Regions from separate parts of the Homo sapiens genome. Here region 1 is linked to region 2. Evidence: promoter capture Hi-C in 16 types of primary human blood cells and fetal thymus (Javierre and others, 2016). All regions are on one chromosome and are shown on one strand. Each heading gives the region's core, a stretch centred on a gene start or on the middle of the fragment in contact. The rest is flanking DNA. Distances are from core to core; before and after follow the strand shown. Region 1 overlaps WNK1 (WNK lysine deficient protein kinase 1). Region 2 holds the start of FBXL14 (F-box and leucine rich repeat protein 14).

Region 1 (7,186 bases), core at 4,522-7,021, 780 kb after region 2:
TCCCAGCTACTCAGGAGGCTGAGGCAGGAGAATCGCTTGAACCCGGGAGGCGGGGGTTGCAGTGAGCTGAGACTGTGCCACTGCACTCCAGTCTGGGCAACAGAGCGAGGCTCCGTCTCAAAAAAAAAAAAAAAAAAAAAAAAGGTATAAGACATACAGAAAACAAACAGCAAAATAGCAAATCATTCATTTTGACTAATTAAATGTAAATAAACTCTCCTACCAAAAACAGAGATGGGCAGAATGGATTTTTTAAAAAGAAAGAAAAAAAGCCAACTATATACTGTCTACAAGAGACTCATTATAGATCCAAGGACAGAAATAGGTTGAAATTCAAAGGATGAAAGAAAAATGATATTCTATGCTAATAGTAAATAAAAGAGGGTGAGGTAGCAAAACTAATATCAGGCAAAATAAGTAAAAATACTGATGCAAGAGATAAAGAAGAGCATGATGTATTGATAAAAGGGCCAATCCATAAAAAATAACAATTATATACATCAAACAATAAAGCCACCAAATAATGAAGCAAACATTCACAGAATTAAAGGGAGGAAATTAGTAGACACTACAGTAATAGTTGGAGACTTCAGTATTCCACTTTCAATAACGGATAAAACATCTAGACAAAAGATGAGTAAGAAAACAGAAGACTTGAACAATATTATAAACCACCAAAAGGTAACAGACATATTTAGAACACACTGCCCAACAACAAGTGAATATATATTCTCAACTGTACATGGAACATTCCTTCAAGAAATCTCCAAAGAAAAGTCTAGGACTGGATGGCTTCATTGATGAGTTCTACCAAACATTTACAGGAGAATTAACACAAATCCTACTCTTCCAAAAAGCAAAAGTGGAGGAAACACTTTCTAAATCATTCTGTGAGGCCAGTATTGCCCTGATACTGAAGATACCAAAAGAAAACTATAGACTAACACCGTTATTAATGTAGATGTAAAAACTCTCAACAAAATATTGGCAAGCCAAACCCAACTGCATAGTAAAAGGATTATACACTATTTATCTATGAAATGCAAGGGTGATTCAACATAAGAAAATTAATCAGTATAATATATCACACTAATAGAACGAAGTGGTTTCATGATTATCTAACTTGATGCAGAAGAGCATTTGACAAAATCTAACACCTTTCCAAAAAAAAAAAAAAAAAAAAAAAAACTCAAGAAACTAGGATAGGAATAGCAGAGAACTTCCTCAACATGATAAAGAACATTTATGAAAAACTCACAGCTAACATATACTCAATGGTGAAAGACCAAAAGCTTTCTCCTTAAAATCAGTAATATGACAAGGATAATCAATGCTAATCATAATTCAAGCTCTAGCCAAAACAGTTAGACAAGAAAAAGAAATAAAGGCATTCAAATCTGAAAGAACTATCTATTCACATATGACTTGATCCAATATATAAAAATCCCAAAGAATGGCTAGGTGTGGTGGCACACACCTGTAATCTCAGCACTTTGGGAGCCAGAGGCAAGGGAGATCACTTGAGGCCAGGAATTTGTGACTACCATAAGCAATATATTGAGACCCTATCTTTATGAAAAATTTAAAAATTAGCCAGGCATGGTGGTACACACCTGGAGTCCCAGCTACTCAGGAGGCTGAGGTGGGAGGATCCTTTAAGCCTAGAGTTCAAGTCTGTAGTGAGCTATGACTGCACCACTGCACTCCAGCCTCGGTGACAGAGTGAAACCCCATCTGTTTAAAAAAAAAAAAAAAAAAAAAAAACCCCAAAGAATGAACACACACACAGATGAGCTAATACAAGAATTCAGTAAAGTTACAAAAGTACAAGACTGACACACAAAAATCAGTTGTATTTATATATACCAGCAATTAACAATCTGAAAAGGAAATTAAGAAAACAATTTCATTTGCAATAGCATATAAAGGATCTAGGAATAAATTTAACCAAGGATGTGAAAGACTTGTATAATGAAACTACAAAACATTGCTGAAAGAAATTAAAAAAGACATAAATAAATGGACAGACACCCTGTGTTCACGGATTAGAAGACAATATAGTTAAAGATGGTGATACTATACAAAATGATCTACAGATTCAACACAATTTCTGTCAAAATTCCAACAGCCTTTTCTTGTAGAAATGGAAATCTAATCCTCAAATTCACATGGAATTTCAAGAAGACCCCAACTGTCAAAAACAATAGTGAAAAAGAAGAACAAAATTGGAGAAGTCACTTCTAATTTTCAAAATTTACAAAAATTACTATAGTAATCAGAGCAATGCGGTACTGGCATAAGAACAGACATGTAGGCCAATGAAATAGAATTGAGAGTCCAGAAATAAACCTATACATATGATTAAATAATTTTTGAGAAGAGTACCAAGACCATTCAATAGGTAAAAGTCTCTTCAACAAATGATGCTGGGATAACTGGACATCAACATGTAAAAGAATGAAATCAGACCCTACCTCACGGCATACACAAAAGTTAACTTAAAAATGGAACAATAACCTAAATAGAAAAGTTAAATTGATAGAACTCTTAGAAGAAAACTTAGGGATACATCTGTATGCCCTTGGTTATTTATGACAATGGACTCTTACATGACACCAAAAGCCCAACCATCAAAAGACAAAGCAGATACATTGGATTTTATCAAAATTTAAAACTTGGCACAGGCTTGAGCATCCAAATCAGAAAATCCAAGATCCAAAATGCTCCAATAGAAAATCTGAACTTGAGCACCAACATGACACACAACAAAAATGCTCATTTGAACATTTTGGAGTTCAGATTTGGGAGGCTTAACTGGTAAGTATAATTCAAAGTTCCAATATCTGAAAAAATTCAAAGCCCTTCTGGTCCCAAGCATTTCGGATAAGAGATACTATACTCAATCTGTACATCATAGAACATTATCAAGGAGCAAAAAAGGCAACCTATAGGAGAAAATATCTGCATATCATGGATCTGGACAAGGGTCTAATTTCTAAAATATATAAAGAACTCTAATAAATCAACAAAAAAACAAGCAATCCAATAAAAAATGAGCAAAGAACTTGAATAAACATTTCTCCAAAGATACACAAATAGCCAATAAGCATATGAAAAGATGTTCCACATTATTAATCATTAGGGAAATGCAAATGTAATCCATAATGAGGTATCATGTCACTCCCGGTAGGATGCCTCCTCAAAAAGTTAAACAAAGATTTCCACATGACTCAGCAATTCCATTCCTAGTATACAGCCAAAAGAAATGAAAACAGGTACTCAAAAAAATACTTCTGCACAAATATTCATAGCAGCAGTACTCATAATAGCCAAAAGGTGGATACAGCCCAAATGTTCATCAATGGATAAATAAACAAACTGTGATATTTCCATGCAATGGAATGTTATTCAGTCATAAAAGGGGATGAAGTACTGATGCGTGCAATCACGATGATCCTCGAAAACACCATGCTAAGTGAAAGACGCCAAACACAAGGATCCATAACATACTTTGAGTCTATTTATAGGACATATCCTGATTAGATAAATCCATAGAGATGGTAAAAAGTTGGTAGTTGTCAGGAGCTGAGGGTTGGGAGAAATGGGAAATTGTTCCACGGGCATAGAGTTTGTGACATGAAAAGCATTCTAGAAATTGCACAGAAATGTGTTTGTATTAACACTACTGAACTATACACTTAAAAATGGTTAAGATGGTAAATTTTGTTATGTTTTTTACAATAAAAAAATCCCATCCACGAATGGCTGGTCCCAGAGATCAGGCAGTCCAACCACTTGTTTTACATACACATGGGGAACTGAAGCCCAAATAAGGTTAGCTATTTGCCCAAAATCACAGTTGGTCAGAGGCAGCGGTGGGAGCAGTCACAACTTCTACTGCAAGTCTAATGCTCTTTCTACTTAATAAACCCTCCTGTTGGCATAAGCCTCTGAAGCTCAGAAACTGAAAATTTCTTTTTAATTGTAAAAAGAAAAAGAACTTAGATAATGTGCAATTAAAGAAAAAATACGCTGCCTGGCTGGAGGAAGGGAAATGCAGAGTAACTGCTTAATGGGCACAGAGTGTTCTGAGGTGATTAAAATGTTGAGTAACTTGATAGATGTGGTACTTACAAAACATTGTGAATGTACTAAGTGCCACTGAATTGTACTTTCTAAAATGTTAATTGTATGATATTTGAATTTCATGTCTATTTAAAAAAATACATCTAAATTTATCTCAACTTTTAATCCAAATTTTTTTTCTTTTTCTTTTTTTGAGATGGAGTCTCACTCTGTCACCCAGGCTAGAGTGCAGTGGCACAATCTCGGCTCACTGCAACCTCCACTTCCGGGGTCAAGCGATTCTCTTGCCTCAGCCTCCCGGGTAGCTGGGATTACAGGCGCCCGCCATCATGCCCAGCTAATTTTTCGTATTTTTAGTAGAGATGGGGTTTCACCATGTTGGACAGGCTGGTTTCGAACTGACCTCAGGTGATCCTGACCTCAGGTGATCCATCCGCCTCAGCCTCTCAAAGTGCTGGGATTACAGGTGTGAACTACCACGCCTGGCCTTAATCCAAATTTTCTGACTCATACATTCCCATCTTATTTTTCAGCTATGGGTGTTTTATCTGTTTCAATGTAAATATACATAGAGAACAAAGGTAGAAACTCGAAAGGTCCAAAAAGCACGCATTTTGGAATTAATTCCCATTCCTTCCCAATCTGCCTCTCCAAATGCTGCCAATGGTCCTAGTTATCCATTCTTCCAGAAATGAATATGAATGTTTTCAATCTACTTGCTTAGGAATCTGTATACATTCTCAATCAGAATTCTTAAATTCTGAAATTTTTCTTTTTCTCATTCTCTCTACTTTTTCATTTTTATTTTTGAGATGGAGTCTCGCTCTGTCACCCAGGCTGGAGTGCAGAGGCACGATCTCGGCTCATTGCAACCTCCACCTCCTGGGCTCAAGTGATTCTCTGCCTCAGCCTCCAGAGTAGCTAGGACTACAGGGAAACCCCTTTTAGATAATTAAATCTATCTGGGTCTTCTCACTACTATGTCATCCTCTTTAAATATTTTCTGTCTTTTTTGTGTGTTCTGTTGCTCATTTCTTCGTAGTTAATATTCCTGTCAATTCAATTCAGTCTGCTGTTTAACCGTTAGACCATTTATGTTTGAATTTTAATGTTCTTATTTCTAGAAGTTCTTCAGAAGCTTTTAAATTATGCCTGTCTTTTTTTTCTTTGGTGTCTTTTTCCTTCAATTCCTTCTTTTCTCTTTATACACTTCATATACACTTACAAATATCTTTACTGACATCATTATGTAAATAATTGTTTGTAATCACTTTCAGACTTGTCCATGATATCCTTAATTGTTGCAGTGCTATTTTCTGGTTGTGTCTATTCACCTTCATTGGTGTGATTTGTAATTTAATTGTGAGGTCATCTTCTTTGGAAACAGTTTTGCCTCTGGACACTGACCAAGGAACTGTGAAAATGTCCCCGGGAGTTTTCTTTCCGTTCCTGATCAATTATCATGTATGTTCTTCGGTTTGGGATTCCTGTACCAAGTAGATGGTACAAATTTATGTTATAGCGCCATCTACATATGAGATGGAAGAATACCAAACAGGCTGGGCACCGTGGCTCATGCTTGTAATCCCAGCAGTTTGGGAGGTCAAATCGGGATGAGGCCAAATCAGGATGAGCTCAGGAGTTTGAGAGCAGCCTGGGCAACAAAATAGACACTGTCTCTACTAAAAAAAAAAAAATTGTTTTTTTATTAGACAGGTATGGTGGTGAGCAACTATAGTCCCAGGTAGTGGGGAGGCTGAGGTGGAAGGATTCCCTGAGCCCAGGAGTTTGAGGCTGCAGTGAGCTATGATTGTGCTGCTGCACTCTGTCCTGGGCAACCGAGTGAGACCCTGTCTCCAAAAAAAGAAAAAGAAAAGATTAGTTTACAGAATAATTAAGAACACTGGTAGCATTTGATGTGAATTTCTATTTTTCATAGGTCTCCCCTCTTATCCACAGTCTTCTGCACACAGGTAAAATTCCTTGCAGCTTTCACTGGCTAGAGCACTGAGGTCTCTCTTTTCACGGATAGTTCAGTTTTTTGACACAGGCTAAGTTCTAGCTCCCCTCTCTACCTAGTTCTAAGGCTTTCTGTCCTTGCATGGACATTAAAACTAGCATCAACTCCTCAACCAATATGTGGTCTAAAATCCCAGAGTATAAGTTCCTGTTTTGGCTTTGAGTTATCTCTGCTTATTATCTGGAGGTTAACCTTTCTTTCCTTAAAGCTTAGACACGTATTGGAAAAAACTTTTATTATATTCCACATTTCAGTTTGTTGGTGTGGGACAGCCATTCCACAGGGGCTTATTACCCCACTATGTTACCCAAAGCTCCTCAATATAGTTTTTAAAACAAGTAAACCATTGTATTTTAGAGTAATCTTAGGCATGCCAGACAAACTGTTGACAACCAAGTAAGTATCCAAACCAGTGGAAAGAATCTCAAGATGTACACATAATTATTACCACATAATTCTCCTTAATTCATTCAAACACTTATTATTCAGTATTAGACACTTCCAGTAGAATGTGATATCTAGCACTTGTTCATAGTACTAGGTATATAGTGCTAGTTAGCACATTCTAATGGAAGAAAAGAGAGTATCAAGAAGCCTGACTAACTAGGATAAAGGTATTGCCATAAACAAGAGTGGAAGTTGGATAAAGAAATTAGAATTTGCAGGACAGAAATGATCTGTTCATGTTTCAACATGCTAACCGTAAGCATTTCAGAAAACATGCAAGTGACTATATCCAGGTGCTGTAACACTGTATTCCAATGATCTGGAATTAATCAGCTCAGCAGTATTAACTTTAACAATTAATAAAGAATATATGCCACAGTGATAATTTAAAAATATCCAATTTCACCAAATAAAAAATTTATACAAGGTAACTTACTACAGGTTCTTCTCTGAGTAAAAACAGATCCTCTAAGATACCAGGGGTCCCCAACCACTGAGCCACAGATCAATATCAGTCCATGGCCTTTTAGGAACCTGGCCACACAGCAGGAGGTGAGTGGCAGGCGAGCAAGCAAAGCTTCATCTGTATTTACAGCCGCTCCCTCACTGCTCGCATTACCACCTGAGCTCTGG
Region 2 (7,399 bases), core at 604-3,103:
TTTGGATTAAGGCCTTGACATCAACCCAAACACATCTAGGTGCACAGAACAATCAAAAAGTGACTTTTGCGCAGAATTTAAGGTAAACGTTTAGGCAGAAGTGACTGAGAAGAATAAAAGCCTAGATAACCTCCAGGAGAAGAGTGAAGCCCAGGCATACCCCAGAATCGTGACACTTACTGCCACCGTACATCTGGATGTACTGGATGACTAACAGTACAGTCTATTTTTTCAAGAAGGTTATAAAAATCTATGGGCTCCACACTGCGTGTAATGTGGGTGAGGTAACAAGCTGGCGAGAATTTTTGCTTCTGCATTTCCTGATTTAGGAAAGAGGAGTGGTAGGGGTGTAAAAGGTGTATTATGCCTATTACTGAATCTGTATGTATTTGGTCTAATAGTGGTTGCTTGGGCAAAAGTTACTCTCCTACACTGAATATGGAACCCCTTCCAAATCTTGTTCAGGTCCTCAAAGAATCAATGAAACCATTTTCCCTTTCTGATAAATCCGCTGGTCTTGTATCTAGTTGTGTGGATCCATAAATTAAAATACAGAGGATCATTTTCTCTGATCCAAAAATTCTTGGTTTGGGGGTAGTTAAAATGAAACTTCTGAAATTCTATCCTTAGTACGGACATTTAGGACCCAGGGGCTACATCCTAGAATGGAATTGTGCCCTGCTTCCATAAAACGGTTGATAAACCAACAGACACGACTGGATTGTCTTAAACCAAGTTCAACTGTCATTCCATTTTAATCAAAAAGTAAATTGGATTCAGCATATACGAATATATTGACTATCAGTACAACTGAGCCATACAACTGATAGTCTAAGGCTGATGACAAGGAGAAAGCTCCTAAAACAAGGCTTAGGGGAAGGCTGTTCCCCTGTAAGCAAAGCGGACTGAGGGCATTGGTGGCGCAGCAGCGTTCAGAAGTAGAGGGAAGTTTTGATGTATCAAGTACCGAGGGAAACACACACAGCGTGTCTGGAAACCATCAGAAGATGCTAGAAGGAAGTAGTCATGGATAATTCTAGAAATTTCTAGAACACCGACTGGAGGGGGTCATTGTTTAAGATGAGTACAGCCGAGTTTCTCTCCAATTTAAGACACAAGACTGGAGAGAAAGGCGTCGTAGTAAACAGCCCCAACCGGGGGAGCAGGGGGTGTGATAATGAGGCGTTAAGGGGCATTAGGGACAGTAAGAAAAGGAGAGTTGGGGTGACGATTATTGAGCACTGCTATAGGAGGCGGCTCTCGCAGGGATAATCAAGGGAGAGGGGTGTGAAATAAGGGTAACGAATTGCAGGGGTAAACTGTGGGAAGGGGCTGCGCAGACTTCAACAGCAAAGAAAAAGAAGGAACGGGGCTGGGGCGTGGCCCAGAGAGGGAACGGCTCAATAACGGGCTACCGGGTGAAAAGAAGCCGGGTGGGGAGGCGCTCTGCTGACAGCTGCCGCTCCCCCGTGGCGCCCACAGGGTTAAAAATCAGGGGCCACGGGACCAGGCCGAACTCGGTTTCCAGGGCAACGGCTCCACAGTTCCGGCAGCGCAGGCCCGTACCATTGCGCGGGCGCGGGGGAGCGGGAGCGGCGGAGGGGACGCGCTGCAGGGCGGCGGAGCCGGGGCCGGCCCGGGCGCTACCAAACGCACGGCCCGCCTGCTCGCCCGGGGTCTGCGCCGAGCCGCGCTCCGGCCGGACGGCCGCGGCGTCCTTGGTGCGGGGGCCGGCAGCTCCCAAGTGGCCGCGGACGGCGGGGGAGAAGGAACGCACGCCGCCGGCCGGGATTGGCCTCCTGGTCCCCCCGCCTGGGCGGCGGAGTGCGGGCGGCCCGGGGCTGGGAGGTTTGAAAAGCGGGCGAGAGACAAAGGCAGCAGGAAGCCTCCTCCGCGCCCGGAGCCCGTGCGCCCGGCCCCCGGGGCCCCCTCGCCGCCCGCCGGCCCGCGGAGCAGCGGCGGCGGCAGGAGGCGGAGGATGCGGCAGGGGGCGTGGGCGCGGCGGCGCGGGCGGAGCGGCGCGGCCCGGGCGCGGCGTGGGTAGAGCCGAGGCGGCGGCGGCGGCCGGCCTCCGGGAGCGAGAGCGAGGCGCCTTCCCCGCCCGGGATGTGAGCGCCGTGCGGAGCCCGGGGCGGGGGAGGGCCGGGCCGGAGGCGCAGCCGGCAGGAAGGAAGGACGGACGGACCAGGAGGAGGAGCGGCGGCGGCGGCCGGAGCCGGAAGGCGGGGAGGGGCCGGCCGTTGGGCCCGAGGCGGCGGCGGCGGCGGCGGCGGCGGCTGGGGAGAAGCGCTCTCGTCGCCTGCCCGAGGCCGGAGCGGCGGGGCCCGCGCCTCCTCCCCCCAGCGCCGCGGAGGGGGGAGGAGGAAGATGGAGACCCACATCTCATGCCTGTTCCCGGAGCTGCTGGCCATGATCTTCGGCTACCTGGACGTCCGGGACAAGGGGCGCGCGGCGCAGGTGTGCACCGCCTGGCGGGACGCCGCCTACCACAAGTCGGTGTGGCGGGGGGTGGAGGCCAAGCTGCACCTGCGCCGGGCCAACCCGTCGCTGTTCCCCAGCCTGCAGGCCCGGGGCATCCGCCGGGTGCAGATCCTGAGCCTCCGCCGCAGCCTCAGCTACGTGATCCAGGGCATGGCCAACATCGAGAGCCTCAACCTCAGCGGCTGCTACAACCTCACCGACAACGGGCTGGGCCACGCGTTTGTGCAGGAGATCGGCTCCCTGCGCGCTCTCAACCTGAGCCTCTGCAAGCAGATCACTGACAGCAGCCTGGGCCGCATAGCCCAGTACCTCAAGGGCCTGGAGGTGCTGGAGCTGGGAGGTTGCAGCAACATCACCAACACTGGCCTTCTGCTCATCGCCTGGGGTCTGCAGCGCCTCAAGAGCCTTAACCTCCGCAGCTGCCGCCACCTTTCGGATGTGGGCATCGGGCACCTGGCCGGCATGACGCGCAGCGCGGCGGAGGGCTGCCTGGGCCTGGAGCAGCTCACGCTACAGGACTGCCAGAAGCTCACAGATCTTTCTCTAAAGCACATCTCCCGAGGGCTGACGGGCCTGAGGCTCCTCAACCTCAGCTTCTGTGGGGGAATCTCGGACGCTGGCCTCCTGCACCTGTCGCACATGGGCAGCCTGCGCAGCCTCAACCTGCGCTCCTGTGACAACATCAGTGACACGGGCATCATGCATCTGGCCATGGGCAGCCTGCGCCTCTCGGGGCTGGATGTTTCGTTCTGTGACAAGGTGGGAGACCAGAGTCTGGCTTACATAGCCCAGGGGCTGGATGGCCTCAAGTCTCTCTCCCTCTGCTCCTGCCACATCAGTGATGATGGCATCAACCGCATGGTGCGGCAGATGCACGGGCTGCGCACGCTCAACATTGGACAGTGTGTGCGCATCACGGACAAGGGCCTGGAGCTGATCGCTGAGCACCTGAGCCAACTCACCGGCATAGACCTGTACGGCTGCACCCGAATCACCAAGCGCGGCCTGGAGCGCATCACGCAGCTGCCGTGCCTCAAGGTACTCAACCTGGGACTCTGGCAGATGACGGACAGTGAGAAGGTCAGGTGAGGGCGGCAGCACCAGCTCCCCTTGTCCCGCCCTGTTCATCCTCCCATTACCACCGCCCCCACACACTCACACGCACACTTACGCACAGATCATTGCAGCGGATGAGATGGGGCTATGACAGAAGCCTCAGGCTCGTTTCCTCCTCCCTCCTCCAGCCCCCTCCCGGCTTCCAGCCCATTCTCTTTGCAGCTGGGGTTCCTACCCTACCCTACTCCCAGCTCCTTTTCCCCGCGGATGGAGAGATGGACTCTGCTGCTTACCCACCCACTCCCCTGCAGGGGGTGGAGGACTGATTCAGCTACTGTATCCCCACTGCTGTGACTGGAAATGGGGGTGGGGAGTGACTGGTCTTTTCAACCCTGGGGAGTTGAGGAAAATGTCTGCTTTCACTTCAGCTTTCATTTGAATACTGTGATCTGGTTTTTATTTTGAAATGTATAAAAAGCAAACCCAGCTACAAAGGCCTTTTCACCCTTCCACTTTGTAACTAATCCCAGTCTCTTCTCATCACTCCTCCTCTTACAGTACTCTGCTATTCATGCTCATTTCATGTTCTTAATCTTCTTTCCTGTTTAAAAATTTTTTTTTGGAAAAAATTTGAAATCATGGTCCTTTTTTCTGCTGAATATATTCTATATATTATATATATATAAATTATATATATATATATATACATATATATGTCTGGCTACCTCGTTTTAGTTTACTTTTTTTCTGAAGCCCTGGAATTCTACAAGAGAGATATTTTGAGACTGAAACATGTTTGTGCCTAGACTGGAAAGATGCCCTTGGGTTTGTCCGTCTTTTTGTGTTGGCTTCTTCCCAGCCTCCATCCGTCCAGTGTGCCCCACTTCCACATTCTGGCTATAATTTCCTTTTTCTCCTTGTTCATTGGGATTTGAGGACCTATTTCTAAATCTTAATTTATAGCACAAATATGTGGGAGCAATGAGAGTTGAACCGTTGTTTTTGTTGGAGATGCAGATTGTGTCTTGAAAATGATGATTATATATGCAAATTCTGCCCTACCCTCACCCTCTTCCAAGTTTCCCCCCAAAAAGGTCACACAGTGCGGCTTCCTGTGGGAAACAGGAGCAGAGCTGGCCTGCAGAGCCCCTGGGGCTGTGATGAAGCTCATATCTTATCTCTGTTCTATTAACAAAATGGGAGTTTGTGGGTTTTAAAAAATTCCGTTTCTAAATGGAGGAATAGATGACTTTCTTTCTTTTGGTGGGGGTTGGGACTTGTGGCTTTAAAGAAATCACTTCTGAGTAGGATGTATATTTTCGTTGGATTTTTGTTGTTATTTCTTTAGAACCCTCCACAGCAACATGCAAGACCATGGAGTTAAAGAAACCCAGAGACCTTTATCAATTAATTGTACTGTTTGTGAATTTGTATAAATAATAACAAAGATCCTCTTAAAACGTTTATATTCTTACAGTAAAAGGTTAAACTGATATTTATATAATAAAAGAGGAAATATGAAGTATGTTTTTGAAAAAAAAAAAAAAAACAACAGCCTTGTATCTGCGAATTATTTTTAAGGCATTGTGTGCTTGGGTACATGCCAAGGTAGGAGGTGTTGTTTGTATACTCTAAGAGGACGCAAGGTGGAGTTTGGTGCATCCTATGTGGGGGTGAGTCAACTCATGGGTAGAATTTTATTCTGTATAAGGTTTACTACTGACATGTTTTGTTTCTAGAAATGTGATTAGACTGGAGATTTATATAATGTTTGGCTTTAAACTTTCAACAACGTGGAAATTTAAAGAAATTGAACAAAATGAAACTTTTTAAAAAACCAGATTTGTATGTAAGTCACAGTTTCCCCGAGTGGCCAGTTTTTCTTTGGGTGAAAATGAGATCTAGAGGTGATGTTGAAAAGTGGTTCACGACGTGGGCAAGAAAGATGGATTTTTTTTACCCTGAGAGTGGGTGTGGGGAGGATGTGAAGGTGGAAGGACTGAAGCCATTGTTGAGAAAAGTTAAAAGAGCGCTGTCCTTGCGTGCTTGCCGGCTCAGTCATGCATACTGAATCTCCCAGTGTGAGCGAGGGTCCGGGTGGAGAGGAGGAGGGCAGCTCAAGCCCTCTTTTTCACATTCCCCTCCAGGCCCGGCTGTAAGGAAGCACTTTCCTGGGGGATGGGGAGCTTGGCCAGGATTTTGCACATTTGCATTTTAGCACTTCCAATAGCCGAGGCTGGCCGCTGGATCCACTCTGTCAAGGGTTTTTAGACTGAAATCGGGGCAGATTAATGAAATACCAGAATTCCAGCAAGAGTTCCCTTTGGTAGACAGTAACAAAATAATCTGACACCCTGTGGTTTGGCTGTGGAGACCTATGGGTGTGAGTGCTCCAACAGGGGAGTGGTTCATATTCCTGGTTTCACATTGGTCTGGGTTGTTTCTGAGATTGTTAAAAAAAATACTGATCTCAGCAAGAGCTGATAAGAGTAGTATAAAACTTTCCTGGATCAACCCCTCTTTCCAGGAAGAGGGCTGGAACCCAGGTTTCTCTTGGGATAAGATTGTTTTGTAAAATGTCCAAGCTTTCTGCCTGAGCATATCACAAAAGCCGCATTGTTCCTTTTTGGAGAGTCATCACAATTGGGTCTAATTGAGCCTGACACTAGATCCATCTTCTGTTTCTTTGGGGAAGGTGTGGATCTCTTTCTTCCCACTTAGGTTACAGTGCTTAATGCCTGGAAAAAAAAAAAAGTGTGAAGCCTATTAAGAAGTAGGGACTCTGAATTAGGGTCAGCTTTCTAATCCAGCATTTGACACAACTCCTGAAGGTTACACGGCAGTGGGTTCTTAGTCTGTTTTTCTTCCAAGAGACTGCATGGCTGTACAGATTCAATTGATAAAAATTTGAGCACCCAAGTCTTAGGCTCTGTATTCACATTCTTCATTTTAATAGGCAAAATATTCCTACCACCTGTAACGTGAAGCACGTTCTTCTGTTTTGTCTCCTTTTTACGTTAAATGTTAAATATACGCTTGACTAAAGGTCGGCAAATTGATGTTTGAAAGTTACGACCATGGGTCTAGCTATATCCTTATCCTGAATGAGGCATACTTAGTATATAGCCGGAGCTTCTCTGGGAAAGATGATAAACCACCTAGAGTGGTTAGTGAAGGTCAACTGCTCATCTCTCAACCTTTTTGGATGGAAAGCAATTAACGTGTTGAGAACCTATGTGTGTTTTACAAGGTACTTGTAAGTTTTAATCTTCAAAGCAACCTGCTGAAACAGGTATTATCCCTGTTTTCCAGATAAGTCATAATTCCTGCCGTAAGTTACCCAACCAGTAAGTGAGGGAGCCAGGATTCAAACCTAGGCTCCATTTCTCCATTTCCCTCCCTCCCTCCCTCCCTTCCTTCCTGTCTTCCTGCCTTCCTGTCTTTTTTTTTTTTTTTTTTTGAGACAAGGTCTTGATCTTTTTTTTTTTTTTTTTTTTTTGAGACAAGGTCTTGATCTGTTGCCTAGGCAGGAGTGCAGTGGTACAATCACAACCCACTGCAGCCTTGACTTCCCAGGTTCAAGTGATCCTCCCACCTAGCCTCCTGAGTAGCTGAGACTACAGGCGCACACCACCATGGCTGGCTATTTTTTTTTTTTTTTGTATTTTTTTTGTAGAAACAGGGTTTCACCATGTTGCCCAGGCTGGTCTCAAACTCCTGGGCTCAAGCGATCTGCCCACCTCGGCCTCCCAAAGTCCTGGGATTACAGGCGTGAGCCACTCTGCGTGGCCCAGGCTCCATTTCTAAAGTCCAGCTCCCTTCTGCTTGATGAGAAGATTTAGTTACTCGTCATACCTTGGTT

What was found. Contacts are between HindIII fragments. The CHiCAGO score rates a contact against its expected background, and 5 or more counts as called.
Region 1: a fragment that was not itself captured here is called in contact with the fragment with the promoter of FBXL14 in region 2 in 2 of 17 cell types (fetal thymus and total B cells); the score reaches 5.5 in fetal thymus.

The regions. Positions count from the first base shown.
Region 1 is chr12:815,045-822,230 of GRCh38, reverse strand. The region is part of intron 2 of WNK1 (WNK lysine deficient protein kinase 1); the gene reads right to left. Among named protein-coding and RNA genes, the nearest start is that of WNK1, 66 kb to the right of the region's middle. The HindIII fragment of the contact is 1,090 bases long and covers 5,227-6,316 here.
Region 2 is chr12:1,589,035-1,596,433 of GRCh38, reverse strand. FBXL14 (F-box and leucine rich repeat protein 14) reads left to right here and starts at 1,853. Exons shown (of 2, transcript NM_152441.3): 1 at 1,853-3,561. The coding sequence starts at 2,368. RefSeq lists enhancers at 1,149-1,218, 2,589-2,778, 3,296-3,899 and silencers at 1,479-2,348, 3,329-3,378. The HindIII fragment of the contact is 12,621 bases long and covers 1-6,124 here.